3 separate regions of the Homo sapiens genome follow, and regions 2 and 3 are each linked to region 1. The links are contacts of gene promoters, found by promoter capture Hi-C in blood cells and fetal thymus (Javierre and others, 2016). All regions are on one chromosome and are shown on one strand. The core of a region is centred on a gene start or on the middle of the fragment in contact, and the rest is flanking DNA. Distances in the headings are between cores, read along the strand shown. Region 1 holds the start of LARGE1 (LARGE xylosyl- and glucuronyltransferase 1). Region 2 overlaps LARGE1 (LARGE xylosyl- and glucuronyltransferase 1). Region 3 overlaps LARGE1 (LARGE xylosyl- and glucuronyltransferase 1).

What was found. Contacts are between HindIII fragments. The CHiCAGO score rates a contact against its expected background, and 5 or more counts as called.
Region 2: a contact is called between a fragment that was not itself captured here and the fragment with the promoter of LARGE1 in region 1, in 2 of 17 cell types (naive B cells and total B cells). The highest score is 8.7, in naive B cells.
Region 3: a fragment that was not itself captured here is called in contact with the fragment with the promoter of LARGE1 in region 1 in 2 of 17 cell types (naive B cells and total B cells); the score reaches 7.6 in naive B cells.

Annotation. Positions count from the first base shown.
Region 1 is chr22:33,917,929-33,922,955 of GRCh38, reverse strand. LARGE1 (LARGE xylosyl- and glucuronyltransferase 1) reads left to right here and starts at 2,480. Exons shown (of 15, transcript NM_133642.5): 1 at 2,480-2,961. LARGE1-AS1 (LARGE1 antisense RNA 1) reads right to left here and starts at 1,731. Exons shown (of 2, transcript XR_001755630.2): 1 at 1,433-1,731; 2 at 1-549. RefSeq lists silencers at 1,613-2,112, 2,433-2,582, 2,853-2,952. The HindIII fragment of the contact is 4,427 bases long and covers 1-4,269 here.
Region 2 is chr22:33,506,448-33,511,474 of GRCh38, reverse strand. All of the region lies in intron 6 of LARGE1 (LARGE xylosyl- and glucuronyltransferase 1), which reads left to right. Among named protein-coding and RNA genes, the nearest start is that of MIR4764, 72 kb to the right of the region's middle. The HindIII fragment of the contact is 3,692 bases long and covers 193-3,884 here.
Region 3 is chr22:33,525,255-33,530,281 of GRCh38, reverse strand. The region is part of intron 6 of LARGE1 (LARGE xylosyl- and glucuronyltransferase 1); the gene reads left to right. Among named protein-coding and RNA genes, the nearest start is that of MIR4764, 91 kb to the right of the region's middle. The HindIII fragment of the contact is 3,453 bases long and covers 1,116-4,568 here.

The DNA of each region.
Region 1 (5,027 bases), core at 1,231-3,730:
GAAAGTACAAATTCTCCCTTTAACTTTACCCGGTTCCGGGGAGGGGGTAGGGGTGAGAGAGGAGGAAGAGAGTAGGAAGGAAGGACATTCGGGCGGCAAAAAAATAAAAATGATCCCCTTGTTTTCAGCGCGTTCTGGAACAGAGCTGCACGTCAGAGGAAGAACTGAGCAGCCTTCGAGCTAAAAGACTTGGCATTAAACTTTGACACTTTAATGGTCTCTAGGATATTAGATAGTATTTTTTCATATAATGTTCTTCTCCGACACGGTAATGGCATCAGAAACAGAATCTGCTATGCCTGCCAACGTGCACGGTGAGGCTCATCGCCGCAGAGGTAAGACAGCAGGACCCCAGCTTCGCAGTTAACTTATCCCGAAGCTCCAAAGCAAACGTCTTTTACTTCTTCGCCGGGGACGCTGCTGTACCACCGCTGCCTCCCTTTCGCATTCTGCTGGGCTCGGTCAGCCGCTGAGATTAGGTAAACAGCGCTCCGGAGCCGGGGCAAAGCGGGCGCTGCTGCTGCTGGTGGGGGTCGTTGTTTCACGAGGCTGGAGGGAAGGGGGATGGGAGAAGGGTCCCAGCTCGGTAAAGCCAAAGGCCGAGAGTGTGGTTACCGAGGCGGGAGCCAGGTCCGGAGCCAAGCAGGGGCCAAGCCTCCGAAGCCCTTGCCGCCCCACCCCCCCAGCCCGACCTCGAGGAGTGGGGTCAGCTGGGCAACCCAAGCTCGGCGGCCCTTTCCCGCGCGCCCCCTCCCCAGCCCATCCTTCCCCTGCCCCTTCCAAGAACTAGGGTGGGCTTCCCGCTGCCTCGCTCGAGTCCTGGAGAGCGGAGAGGCGCGCAGAGGGAAGGCAAAGACCCGGCGGCCCGCCCGGCTGGGGAGAGGTGGAGACCCGGGGGGAAGGGGACCCCAGAAGCCCTGGGACCGAGCTGCGGAAAAACCCGGGAGCTGGATCGCGCGCCCGGAGCTCCGGTCTCCGAGTCCGAGTTGTGCAGCTCTCGGCGTCCTCTTTCTCTCCCTGCCTCTCTGCTTTCGCCTCCTCTGGGTCTTCTCTCGAGGGCATCCTCCTTCCATCCATTCTCACACCCCCGCTCCTGTGCCCCGACCCATTTCACCCACTTCTCCTGTGGCTCGGGAGGACTCTCCGTACCCCCACCCTGGTCCCTAGAACTGGGAGGCTGGAAGTCCATTCAAGGGATGTTGCGCGCCGGGTTCTTATGCCAAGAGGGAAAGAGCGAGAATAAAATCAGCAGGGGAGGGGCGTGTTGTGCGTGCATGGGGTGTGTGTTTGGGGTGGAGGAAAAAGAAATGTAGTTTCCTCAGAGGAAGAGGAAGCCTTGGACAGGATTCTTGGATACCGATCCCAGAAAGATGCCGTCAGAGCCCTTCGGCGGGGCTCCTCACAGACTCCGGCTGCCCCACAGCATGCCCACCTCCGAGAGAAGCTGCGACCCGAGGCGGGGAAACTTCCTACTTCTCACGACGGCTGTTTTGTGCAATTTGGGGAGCAGGCTGCATGGTCCTGCAAGCCTGCGAGCCTCTCTACCACGGCAGCTGCGGGCCCGTCCCGCTTCCCTTCCCCCTTTTTCCGCGAGGCACGCCAAGCCCGAGGCGGCCGGGAGCCGCCGGGGTTGGGGGAAGAAGGGCGGGGAGCTCCCAGCTTGCACCCTTTCATCCCGACCCGGCCCGGGATCCCGGCTCCGGGTGTTGCTTCCGCCTGCCTGCCAGCCAGCGAGCTGAAGAAGCACCGGGGCGGAGTCTCGCCGGGGGGCGGAGCCTGTGCGGGGGCGAACTCTCGGTCCGCGCGGCTGCGGCGCTTGCCATTGGCCGGCCGCTCGGTCACGGGGTCGGGGGCGGGCGCCGACGCGGGCGCCGGCCCCGCCCCCGCTCGGAACCCAGCCCCGGCTCGCGGTCCCCCCCGGCTGCACAGACATGACACAGACACACAGTCACTGCAGCTGCTGAGCGAGTCCGGCGCTCTGGGCACGCGGAGGCGGCGGGGCCAGCCCGGAGCCCGGACCCCAGCGCCCGCCCCTGCCGGTTCCCGCGCGGCGGCCCACTCCTGGCCGGGCGCGGGAGGCGGGGATCGCGCGCCGGCTCCGGCCAGCGGCGCCCGGCTGCCCGCGGCGGCTGCAGCGGCCGCCCAGCTCCGAGCGCCGGGCGCTCCGGGAAGCCGGCGCATCTCGGAGGCGGCGGCGGCGGCCAAGGCCGGCGAGCGCTCCCGGCGGCGGGGGCCGCCCGCCTCGGCTCCCCGCACCCACCGCGCCGCGATCCACTCGCCGCGCCTCCGCTCCCGTGACCTTCCCGGGGCGCCTCCCCTAGCCCCGCGCCCCCGGCCCCGCGCCCCAGGCCGGGGCGAGGCCTTTTCCGGCGCTTCTTTCCCGCGGAGCCGCGGGCGGGCGGCGCAGGCCCTGGGGGAGAGCGCGCCGCGGCCGGTTGCAGCCCCCCCCGCGCCGCCGCGTTCGGCGCCCGGCCCGGCCAGTCTGCTCCTGCCCCGCCGCCGCGCCGGAGCCCGGGCGCCCGAAGCTGGGGGCGCGGCCGCGCTCGTCTCGCCGGGCTGTTCGCGGGCAGGCCCTGCCCTGAAGGGACGAATCGGCTTGGAGCGCGGGAGGTGGAGTCGGCCCCGGCGGTCGCTCCCTGGACCCAACCCGAGGCTGACCCAGGCCCCTGCCCATGCGGGGCGCCCCTGGCTCGGAAGAGTCCCCCGGGCCGGGAGCAGCTCCAGGCAGCGGCCCCGGAGGAAGAGGAAGAAGGGACAGTGCTCAGCTTGGGGGACCCGGACCCTCGCCGCGGCATTTGGAGCCGGGGGCAGTCCCGAACTCTGTGCTTGGCACCGCCGCTCCGAGTAGGGCAGCGCCTGCCGGGACCCTGACCCGGACCCCCTGCGCCTCGTAGGCGGCGGCGCCGCCGCGCCACCCTGTTCTTCCGTGTCTCCCTCTGCCTGGCGGCAGTCACGGCCAAGGTAAGAGCCCCGGAGCGCGAGAGTCGCCGCGGGGGCGCCGTGGTGTGTAGCGCCGGACAAGTTCTCCGAACCTGTGGCTGGTACCCCCTGTACTCGGGATGCCGGCGGGGAGGCCGGGCACACCCTCTGCTGCCCCGGCCGGGAGCCCTGGAGAGGCTGGAGGTGGAAGCCCCCAGTCTCCGAAGTCCCCAGGACCCCCTCAGGGCCTGCTCGGCTTCTGGGCACACAGGCTGCTGGCAGGGAGCGAGCCAGGAGGAGTTTCTGGTTAACACCACGAGGGCATGTGACCGATACCCGCACCCCCGGCCCTCTTGTTAGCGGTGAGCACCTGTGGTTCGCGGAGCCTGCCGTGTTTGGAGAGGGCCCTGTTGGGCGGTACGCAACTACCTTTCGTGGTGTGATGCTGTGAATAACTTTTCTTGTTCCTTCTTGCAGACAGTCCTGCGCAATTTGGGGGCGAGCAGCCACAGCTTGCGAGTCCCTCTTTAGGACAGAGTGGTTGGTTGGCATTGCTATCTGTAGGGGGGAAGCCCAGCCAGCATGTCCTTCCTGTTAGTCAAAGCTGCTTGTGAGGAGTGATCAGTGTATAGCTATCCAGACATTCTTGTAAATGTCACTGCTTTTGAAGTTTTGGAGTGAGGACTCCAAAGTTTGTGTATCCTCAAGTTATTTTGTTCATTGCCTTATCCTCTTTTAAATGTTCCTCTTAAGGAACCTCAGTTGTACAAGCCTGTCCTTGCCTGTTTGAAATTTATTAAACCTGTGAGCTTCCCCCAGAACAATCTGATTTTAAATGGGTCACTTCGGAGGGAACAGATTGTCTCTTGCACACTGAATCCATCCCTTGGGTGACCCTGTTTAATGGGGTTGGACTCTTTTTTTTTTTTTTTTTCGTCTCTGTGCTGATGTGCCTCGGTTGAGCAGGTTTCTGCTGAATTCAGAATCCGTGAATTTTGTCACTCAGTCCATTAAAATGATCTCCTGAGGGAGCAAAATAGCAGCTTACATTTTTCGTGAATGTCACTGGAAGTTTTACAGGGTCTTATGTAAGTGCCCAGAGAGAGAGAGAGAGGAGGGAGTGGGGGGAGATCAGGCTCCTGCTTCCTTCAAGGGGAGAAACGGAGGGGGTGGCAGGTGGGGGCGTCCGCCTCCCTGACATGCAGATGCCTTTCTTCTCTGACACAGGTGTGGAGACCTGAAGTGCTTATCATTCCGTGGAGGCAGTCACCTCGGGTTAATTTTTCTTCTCACTTCTCCTGTCTTCCCACCTCAGGAGTCAGCTTTGATAGACTTAAGATAAGGAAAGCTTCTAAATTAAGAAGGGAACAAGTGGTGGTTGTTTCTTCTCCCATCCCTCACAAATGGGTGACATGAATGAATTACTCACTGGCACGCTTGGTCCTCCCTAGGGGTAAAAATAAAAGAAATAAAAACGCCAGCTTTAAGATTTCACACATCTCTTAGTGTACCTTTATTGTTCAAGAGTACTTTAGTGAAAATTGCTTGTGGAGAACACATTTATCGAGCCTGTCCCTGTTAATTCCATACCAGGAAGAAAACTCACTCGAACAGAGAGGCAAAAATCACCAAGATTTAGAGGTTAGTGGGTTTTCAAGAGTGGCGAGGAAAGGAATCAAATCCCCCTGGCAGGAGAGAGAGGTTTTTAACGGGAAGATCGGATTGCTCTGGAGTGAGCAGTAGCTGCTGACAAGTGTGGGCCCTCCTGCTTCACTTAATGAAGTGTGCTGGGGTGTGGATTAACTTTTTGATGTGAGCCAATGCAGATTCCTTTGGCTTTTAAACCATACCTGGAAGGGCCTTAGAAATGAAATGAAAGGTTTTTTTCATCTCATCATAGGTCTCGGAAGTGCTTCCATCTCTTGGGAAGGTTGTGACGAAGGTTTCCTTTGTTTCTGGGTTCCTGAGCTGCGCTTTAAAGTTGATGCACAGTGCAGGGAGGGTGCGTCCTGTAGTGTCGCCATCCTTCAGCCACCTACAGTAGCAGGACACTAGGGGGGACTAGTTATCTTTTCCACCATCGAAGAAGAAAACACCAGGGCCCATGT
Region 2 (5,027 bases), core at 789-3,288, 410 kb after region 1:
TATGATTACAGAGCTAGACGTGCCCTGGAATTTATCATGCAAAGCTGAATCCCCCCTCACTCTGAGTAACAACACAGAAAACCTCTTTAAATGCCAGGGAAATATCACCCTTGTTGTCTGTATCAGAGACTAAAAGTATTCTTAATAGTTTAAAGGGTACTCAATAAATATTACCACATGGGGTATTAAGCTTCCAGATTACCCCACCTCAAGGCATACAGCAGTACACACACAGGTACAACTCATGTGGCTGGCATCAGCAACATAAAGAAATAGCAGCAGTAAAAGCTGCGTGTGAAGATACCTGAGTACAGCTGCCACATGTGGAAACATCTGTCCAAATGGGAGGAAAGTCTGGCTGCCCCCGTTTGGTCTCATCAGTCATTTAATGGCCCATCAGTAAAACAGGAAGAAAATCACTATGTGTGTGATGGATTGCCCGACAATACAGAACTGTATCGGCACCCGCCACCTTGAATTGGGTTCATTTGTATATATGCTTGCCTTCTCTCAAGAACAGGGACCATTTGCCAGTCATTGGAGAGCCTGGGGCATGTAGCACGGACTTCAGAACCAAAAGCTAAGCCAGGCTGGGTGTGGTAGCTCACGCCTGTAATCCCAGCACTTTGGGCGGCCAAGGTGGGCGGATTGCTTGAGTTCAGGAGTTCAAGACCAGCCTGGGCAACATAGTGAAACTCTGTCTCAACAACAACAACAAAGAAATACAAAAAATTAGCCAGGCACGGTGGCATGCACCTGTAGTCACAGCTACTCAGGAGGCTGAGGTGAGAGGATCATTTGAGCCTGCGAGGCCAAGGTTGCAGTGAGCCAAGATTGCATCATTGCACCCCAGCCTACCCTCCTGGAGTTAGATCCTGTCTCAAAAACAAAACAGAAAACACCAAACCAGTTTTTAGCCTCTGTGGACTTTGGTATTTTCTTATCAGTGAAATGTGGGCTATACACACTTACCAGCGGAGGTGATAGAGTATAGCAGTCATTAGCACATCCTCTGGAGACAGGCAGCCTGGGTTCCAATTTTACCTCCACTTTTTACTAGCACGGAGACACAAGCCAATTGTTAGAGGTCTCCTCTCTATGGCTGAATTTCCTCATCTGTAAAGTTCCTAACTCATATAGTTATTGATTAAATCAGTAAATATGTATAAAATGCTTAGAGGAGACTTGGGACCTAGTAGGCATGTTATTCGAATTTGCTGTCATCACCACTACCCCCTTACAAGGTGGCTGCAGGGATTAAGACTTGCATGTTTAGACTGCTTCGTGCATGGTCGGTGCCTAATAAATGTAGTTACTATTATTGTGTTTACATCCCTAACTCCCAGTACATTGCTTGCTTATGGTAGTTTATTAAGTAGAATAATGAGCTCATTTCTCAGGTTTATTCTCTAATCTGTTAGGTAGGTGCTGGAATATTGATTTGGTTTTATTATTGTACTCACACATTCTTGTTCTTTAGGTTTCAAATGTAGATCAAAGCAAGGTCAGAGATGAGGGCTCACAGGGGAGCGGCGAGACTTTTTCCCAAATGCAAAATTGTCATAGGTTGGTGAAGCCCAGGTAAACATGCACCGCTCACTTTTCCTTCACTCTCTGCGATTCATTTCTGTCTAAATGAAAGCAGACGAGAGAGATTTTAAATTGCCCAGTTAGGTTTGGGCAAAACACAGATCATTTATAAAAACACAGAACATTTATAAAATCTTGGACGCAATGGCACACACTTGTAATCCCAGCACTTTCAGAGGCCAAGGTGGGAGGATCACTTGAGGCCAGGAGTTTGAGACCAGATTGGGCAGTATAGCAAGACCCTATCTGTACCAAAAAATTTAAAAATTAGCTGGGTATGGTGGCATGCACCTGTAGTCTGGGCTACTTGGGAGGCTGGGGTGGGAGGATCACTTGAGCCCAGGGCTTTAAGATTACAGTGAGGTATGATTGTGCTTTGCTCTCCAGGCTGGGTGACAGAGCAAGACCCTGTCTCTTAAAAAAAAAATAAAAATCCCTCTTTCCATAGAGGACTCTATTAAACATGACACCATTTCATCCTTGCAATGGAATGTGTGCTTGGGACCTCCAAGACAATTGTTTTTGTTGCACTGCCTCCATTTTGCAGATGAGACAGATGAGATGGGGAGAGGGTCTTGGATCAGGTTGAAGGAGAGTATTGATGAGGCCAGTGGTTCTCAACAGGTGGCCCTGGGACCAGCAGCATCAGCCTCACTTGGGAACTTGCTGGTATTCAAAGTCTTGGGGTGCACCCCAGGCATACTAAATCAGTAACCCTAGGGGTGGGGCCCTCAGTGATTATAATGCGTGGGAAAGTTTGAAACCCACTGGGTTAGGCGGATCATTTTAGGCAGGTGATGTCTTTTGGAAGGACAGCCTAAGGCCTGATATACCTGTTCTTTTCCTCACTCCCCAAGCAAATATATACCTGTGACCACACAATCAGAGCGGTAAATTGAAGCCAATTAGCAGCTAAGTAACTGCCAGCACTTGTCACCAGGGTAGTTGTTAGTAATTAGCACTAATGACTCTAGAGAGGAAAACAGTTGTGGTTCAAAGACATCCCCACCATTTGAATTCACTCTGGGTTTTTTCCCACACTTCCCTGCCATATTTTCCTTTTGCATGCAAACACCATCGCAGTTGGATGGATGCTTCTCGGGAGACAAATGTCACGTGAAGTAATAATATGCGATGAGTTTTTAATGCTTGCCAGGATGAGATTGTTCTGTTGGGGTATATATTAAAGTTGCCAATCAACCTTTTGGATACACCTGCATAATTCTGATAGGATGTCATGGATGTACGTTGTAACTTTCTCCAGGAAGCAAAAAGTGATTTATAAGCATGACAAATTGTTGAATGAGATCACCACATGACAGTTCTCTGCATTTGGTGAGAGTGTCGCGAGAAAGAAGAGAAACCAAGGAAAGAGAATTTTCACATAGAGAGTCAAATATGTACACTTTAGTGTTGAGTTACCAAATGTAGGTTTTAGAAAACCCTTTTAAGAAAATGGTAAGGGTGTAATTAACATGACCCTCTTACCTGGTTACCCATGAGTATAGTGTGCATTGGAAGAGGAGAAAGGCTGCCTTTGATCCATGTGCTCCTTGAAGTTGGCAGTGATTGTGTTTTACTCGTTCCCAGTGCCCTGCAGTGGCCCCTGTGCCTTGCCCAGGGTGACACCCACCAGTAGAGTCTTCAGAATGTCAGATTAAATTGAGCAGGGTGGGATCTAGCACCACCTGGTTTTGGCTATGTGAAATTCTGTTGTTCGGTGTAGATTCTGTGTGCTCCACTGTGATCAAAGCTCATCTCTGTGAAAGTTTTTGAGGCTGGCAGATGTTTAGTTGTGCAAGGTCTTGTTAATTAGGAGAGGGAGCACATTATCAAAGGGAAGTGTGGCTGTTTCTGTTCTGTCTCTTTTCTTCCTTCAACCCAAAGGTATAAAATTAGGGAAGTTAGTCAGAAACGCAAGGAGGAGGTAGGAATTGTGGGATTTAAAGGTCCCCCTCTTCCAGAAGGTGATTGCTGTTAAAAGATGCTAGATTGTTTGTAAAGTGTGAATCCTCAACAGTCCCCCTAGGTATGTAATTCTGGTACCACACCAGTGTAGAGCAAGCTGGAGTTCCTAAACTTCCATAGATGAGAAGAGGGTGGTCATGAATGTGTGTCTTCCACCAGAACACCGTGCTTCAGAAACATTATTATGGTGAAATATACCTAACAAAATTTTACCATTGTAACCATTTTAAAGTACATAGTTCAGTGGCATTAAGTGCATTCACGTTGTGGTACAACCATCGCCACCATCCATCTCCAGAACTTTTTCATCATCCTGAACTGAAGCTTTATACCTATTAATATATATAATAACTGTACATTCTCCCCTCCCCCAGCTTCTGGTAGCCACCAGTCTCCTTTCTGTCTCAATGAATTTGAATATTCTAGGTATCCCATATAAGTGGAGTCATATGATGTTTGCGGGTTTTTTTTTAGTGTATGTCTGGTTTATTTCACTTAGCATGATATCTTCAAGTTTGATCCATTTTGTAGCATGTATGAGAATTTCCTTCTCCTGGGCATACACTTCAGGACTGTCAGCATCCTTAGCTCTGCACTCAGAGCCCCTCTCTAGGATTAACTCCCAGCACCAGATGCCCATTCAGACAACCTTGTTTCATTTGCACCTTTCTGAAGCAAACAGCATACCTGCTCTCGGGTCTCTATGCCATTGCAAAAGCTGGTCCCTATGCCTGGGATGTTCATGTCATCAGCCTGCTGAATTCCATCTCATTCTTAAGGCTTCCCTTGACTATCACTGTGACAGGGGTTGGGGGGTGTTTACTTGGATCACAGCATGTGACACCATCATGACCATCAATTCCCTTACCTCTTCTTCCCACTCCCTCTTCAGCCTGTGAGTACCTTAAAAGCAAACTCTCCCTTGCTCTTGTGTCTCCCAAATAGCTGACATGAAGTCTGGGGGTACAGTCTGCTTTGTTGTCTCTAATACTTCTCCTGAGTTTTTTTGTTTGTTTGAGACAGAGTCTAACTCTGTCGCCCAGGCTGGAGTACAATGGCGTGATCTCGGCTCACTGCAACCTCCGCCTCCTGGGTTCAAGCGATTCTCTTGCCTCAGTTTCCCAAGTAGCTGAAACTACAGACATGGGCCACCACACCTGTCTAATTTTTATGTTTTTACTAGAGACGGGGTTTCACCATATTGGCCAGGCTGGTCTCGAACTCCTGACCTCAGGTGATCTACCCGCCTCAGCCTCCCAAAGTGCTGGGATTATAGGCGTGAGCCACTGCCCCAGGCCAGTTCTCCTGAGTTTTAAGAAGAGGTGGGCAGCCTGCTAGACAAAGGCCAGACAAGACAGAATCCTCCTCCACTTTTGACGTAAGAAAGAGAACATCTGTGACCATGCAGAGTCATCATCTGGCTCCATGCCCCTTTCTCAGCTCCTCCCCGGGTGGAATTGTACATGCTG
Region 3 (5,027 bases), core at 1,593-4,092, 390 kb after region 1:
CTTTCCATCCTTTTTCCATTCTTAGCACATTGGATTTTTATCTTCATGCTTTCCACTTCATAGTTGCAAGATGGCTGCCATAGCTCCAGGTGTCTTGTCTTCAGAGTCCCAAACAGGAAGCAAGAGCAAAGCTAAAATCCCTTCTTCCCAGAAGTCTGCCTTTTTATTTAGGATAGGAACCTCCAAAGCAGACTTCTCTTTACATCTGATAGTTTAGAAATTAGTTATAAGCTGAACCCTAGACCCTATCGCTGCTAGTAGGGAAGGGGATTACCATGTCTGGTTTATAGAGATTATGAGTTATTCCCTGAGGATAGGAAGAGGCCCACCTTTCCTGAAATCAGCAGTCTCCCGCTGCTGCCAAAACACAAACACATGGTTCTGTTAGCTGGTGAGAAGGAGGAAGATGGTTGGGTAGATATTAATAGCAGTGAGAATCCCTCATGAAGCTCAGAAAGGAGAAATAATCTTCCGAGAACACACAGCCAGCAAAGACAGAGTCAGTTGTCAAATTTGGGTTTGCCTTTGAAGCCCGTGTGCTTCCTATTTTACCATCCTGCATCTTAGAACATGCAGCCTTCTCATCAACCAGAGATGCTATCTGTTCCAGCAAACCTCAGAAAAAGATCCGATCCCCTGCCTTCGTTTCACAGATGGGAAAATAATGGCCAGCATGGGGGAAGTGATTCACCTAAGTTCACTGGCCTATTTGGCAGGCTGTGAGCCTCGTCATCTTTCCTTTTGGCATTTAGTACTTTCTGACCCGGTTAATAGCTAGGCACGTTGGGGCTGCTTTTGTCTTGTGTATACTTTATTGTCTGCTATCATTTTTTGCTTTAGCATCCCCATTGGTAAGTGCTCTTGCATGGATTCCCAGTAGGTAATGGGGCAACCACAGTAAATTAGGAAGGTAATTCGAGCTGTAGCATTTGATGCACCCCAGTCACAACTATGTTGTGCTGGTTCAACCTGAGGGACACATGAGCAGGAGGGAGGATAGAGAGCTCAGGGCTTGGGCTGCCAAGGCAAGGGGCCATCATGGTCCTCAAAGGCGATGAGCCAGGGATTAGAGAGGGCTCACCATTTCTACTCCTGAAAAAAAAGCAAGATAAGCTTTAAAGTCCCTTCCCAATTCTTTATAGAGTTTCCTTTGGCTAAGGCATAAGCTGATAGGAAAGATACTGAGGAAGGACAAAAGAGAGAATAATTAGAGGAAAAAAAGTGCTATTCCACGTGTAGGGAGTGAGATAAGGGAAGTGGTGAGTTGATGAGTTTCTCTCCTATAAAAGATGAGGCTGATGACATGAACTGTCTTTCAGGCTTGTTCTAAGAAGAGATGACTCCATACGTGCAAAATGCATAGAACAATGCCTGGCGTATAGTAGACACTCAATAAATGTTAAGTACTAAGAAATAAAAATAAAATCCTAAGCTCCCTAACAAATCAGACCATCTCTTGGTCAAGGAGACCCCAGAGTAACCTTGACAACTAAGTTGTCGGCCGTGATGGGTTGGGGGTGTCAGTGTCAAACATACCTCGTTATGCCCCCTCCCTCGCTAACCACCGTTAGGCTTTCTTCTGCAAGGGATTGACAAAAACCAGCCCTCTCAAGAGACTGATATCTACTAACCTGCTGATGCTGCCCCTCCTTTTTCACCTGATCAGAGATCACCCAACACAGAGTGGTTCTGGCCAGTCTATGGAGAATGTGCAATAAGAGTTTTTGTGTCCTTTGCTTCACCTTTTGACATCAGAGGATCAAAACCTCCACCCTTGGATAATGCTAACTCTGCCATTTTTTGTTCATGAGACACATGAAGGGCCATGAAGCTCAGTTGCTCATGGGCACGTGTCTCCTTTTATAAATATTCATGACTCCTCCTATAGCTTATTGAATATGTATATTTGGTCACCCTGATCAGCATAAATTTCTGTTTCCTTTTTCCCTCTGGTGAAGTGTCTGTTTCTGGTTTCTGACGGAGTCTACAGTCCCCAGCCTGTTAGAATAGCCACCATGCAGGCTGCGACCCTTTATGAGAAATAAATCTCTCCTTTCCAAATTTATGAACTTCATCATTCTTTAGCTGACACTACTGTATTATCCTTAATATTGGACATTTTGTGAGATTTTACCCCGCCCCGCCCCCCCCGACCTCTGCCAGAACCCACAGTTTGAAGAACAAAGTGGGTATGTCTACTCTGTACAAGGATCTGTTGCTAGAATATTTTACTCATATGGGTTTTTTTCTCGTTTAATCTTTCCAGCAGCCTGAGAGATCAATATTAATATTCTGATGTTACAGAGCAGAAAATCTGGGGGACCCTGAAAGATTAAGATCTGTTCAAGTCCAAAAAGACATTGGCACCAAAGTTGTTCTGCTTTTCCATGCAGGAACTCCACCTCTGCCTACAGCCAGCTGAGTCCTGCTCTAGGAGCAGATGTGGTTTGTCATTTGGGAACCACTGTTTACACCTCCTCCACTGTCTCCTGGGCCCTTTCTCCCCCTCCCTTCTTTCCTTTTGTTATTATGGTTTGTTCTGGTCAAGGGGCCAGTCACTTTCTCTTTGTGCTGTCACCTTCCTTTAATGGGTTCCACATCTGGGCAGATGATTCTACCTTCCCTCTAAAGAGGGTGTAGAGGAGCCAGAGAACCTCAGACTCTGGGTGGGGTGGGTGTCACACCGATGCAGGAGCATGTCAAGGAGAAAGACAGCAAGAGGGATTAAAGTTGGCACTCATCTTTGAGAGAGCCTCTGAACTGATTGCCATCCGAGTGCCACCCACCAATGAAAGGCCGTTCAGAATTTCTGTCCCCTGGGAACATAAATCCGATCGCCTTGGCTCTGTGTCTCCACTGCATCATCTCACTGGCCCTTTGAGCTCCTTCCACGTGGTAATGCCGTTATCTTTGTACGTGAACCACCTGCCTCAGAACCATTTGGAGTACGCTTGGGAAAACAGAGTTCCAAATCTAGCTCATCCGACCTATAGGGGTTTTTATCCTTGGAATTCGCTTCTTTTTTGAGACGGAGTTTTGCTCTTGTTGCCCAGGCCGGAGTGCAATGGTGCGATCTCGGCTCACTGCAACCTCTGCCTCCCATGTTGAAGTGATTCTCCTGCCTCAGCCGCCCGAGTAGCTGGGATTAGAGGCATGCGCCACCATGCCTGGCTAATTTTGTATTTTTAGTAAAGATGGGATTTCTCCATGTAGGTCAGGCTGGTCTCGAACTCCTGACCTCAGGTGATCCACCCGCCTCGGCCTCTCAAAGTGCTGCGATTACAGGCGTGTGCCACTGCACCCAGCCGGAATTTCCATTTTTAAGCAACTCCCGTGGTAACGCAGGTGCTGTCTTCAGGCCATGCTTTGAGAAATGCTGTAGTCAACTGTGAGCTGCAGGGGAGCATGTCTGTGACTCTCTCTTTGTATTCACAACCCCTTGCCTTGTGTATTTTTTTAATCAAATGGTGGATTAATTGAGTATTTGATTAATTAGTGTACAAAGAGAACAGAAGGAAGTCCGGGAAATGGAAAGTTTTAGTTTCTCAAGAGTAAAGGAAAACAGAATAAATCAAAGTTACCCTGGAAGATCAGAACAGCCTTTGCAGTTGATGGACTTGTGTTCTGTGTTCTCTCTCTGAACTCTTCCCAGCGCCTGTCCAGCGTAGGCTCTCTGCTGAGCCATGTGAGAGCACACGGATACTGCACTCTCTGAATCTTGTACACTACAGAAGTTTCATTACAAGCAAAACCCTTAGTCCAGGCACCTAGCTGAAATGTGAACAGGTGCCCATTCTAGGATTCTTCATCTGATAAATGCCTGCAAAGGCTCCAAGTCCAGCATTGAATACTGCCTTTTCTCTGAAGCCTCTTCTCTCCCCTCAAGCCACGTAAGGTCCATCTCTCTTTTCTTTAAGTGTCATCTGTGGCGAAAACAGGCCTCTTTAAGTCTCTGGCATTGTACCTATTTGTTCACTTGTGTGTTTCCTTCATTAGACTAGAAACTCTTAAGACAGGCTCTCCACTAATCCTCTGTAGAATTTTTTTTCATATAAATATAGTTTTTTTCTCTTATAAATACAGTCGTAAAACATTGCTATCTTTTGTAGCTTCTTTCAACCTAACATAATGTTTTCAAGGTTAGTCCATATTGTAGCATATGTCTGTAGCACATTTTTTATGGCCGCATTATACTCCGCTTTATGGATATATACCACATTTGTAATGCTTTCATCAGTTGATAGATACTTGGGCAGTTTTCACTTTTTGACTACCATGAGTAATGTTGCTATGAATATTTCTGTACATAGTTTGTGTGGACATACATTTTCAGTTCTCTTGAGTATATTCCTAGGAATGGGGCTGCCGGGTAATATGTTGACTCCATGTTTAACATTTCGAGGAATTGCCAAACCATTTTCCAAATGGCTGCACCATTTGCAAGGCTGTATTTTACAAGTAGCTGTTCATATGCTAAGAATACCAATCCGCTGTGTCTTCACTGAATGCCAGCTAACCAGACAGGTGAAACACAGGTGATGAATTTGGAGTCAAGACCTGCAGAAGCTTCCCGTCCCCGTAGCCTCTCTGAGCACTCATTCAGAAATAATGAGTGGATCCAGTATGCTGGGGGGGAAACATAGGGGACCCAGGACTTACGGGTCACCTAGGAACAGATGAAGTTGTTTAACCATGAGCTAAAGGCAGGATGGTATTTAATAGATACATTTTCATATCTGGGACCTGCATCTTGATTATAGATCAAATATCACTTGCATTTGTTTTTCTTTACTCTCAGTGACATGCAACAGAAGACAGGCTTTATTTGAGAGGCTGTTTCATGCAGCTTTCAGCTTGTTTCAGTCTCTTTGTCTACCTTGCCCAGTAGTCACAACCAAGATTCTGAATACCTCCAATTTCTTCTTGGAGATCATACTTCTTATGCTGCAAATCAAGGCAGTACTATGGGCCTGGGGTGGTAGTGGAATTTGCAGCGGAAGCAGTTTCATTGAAGACATATTTTCTTT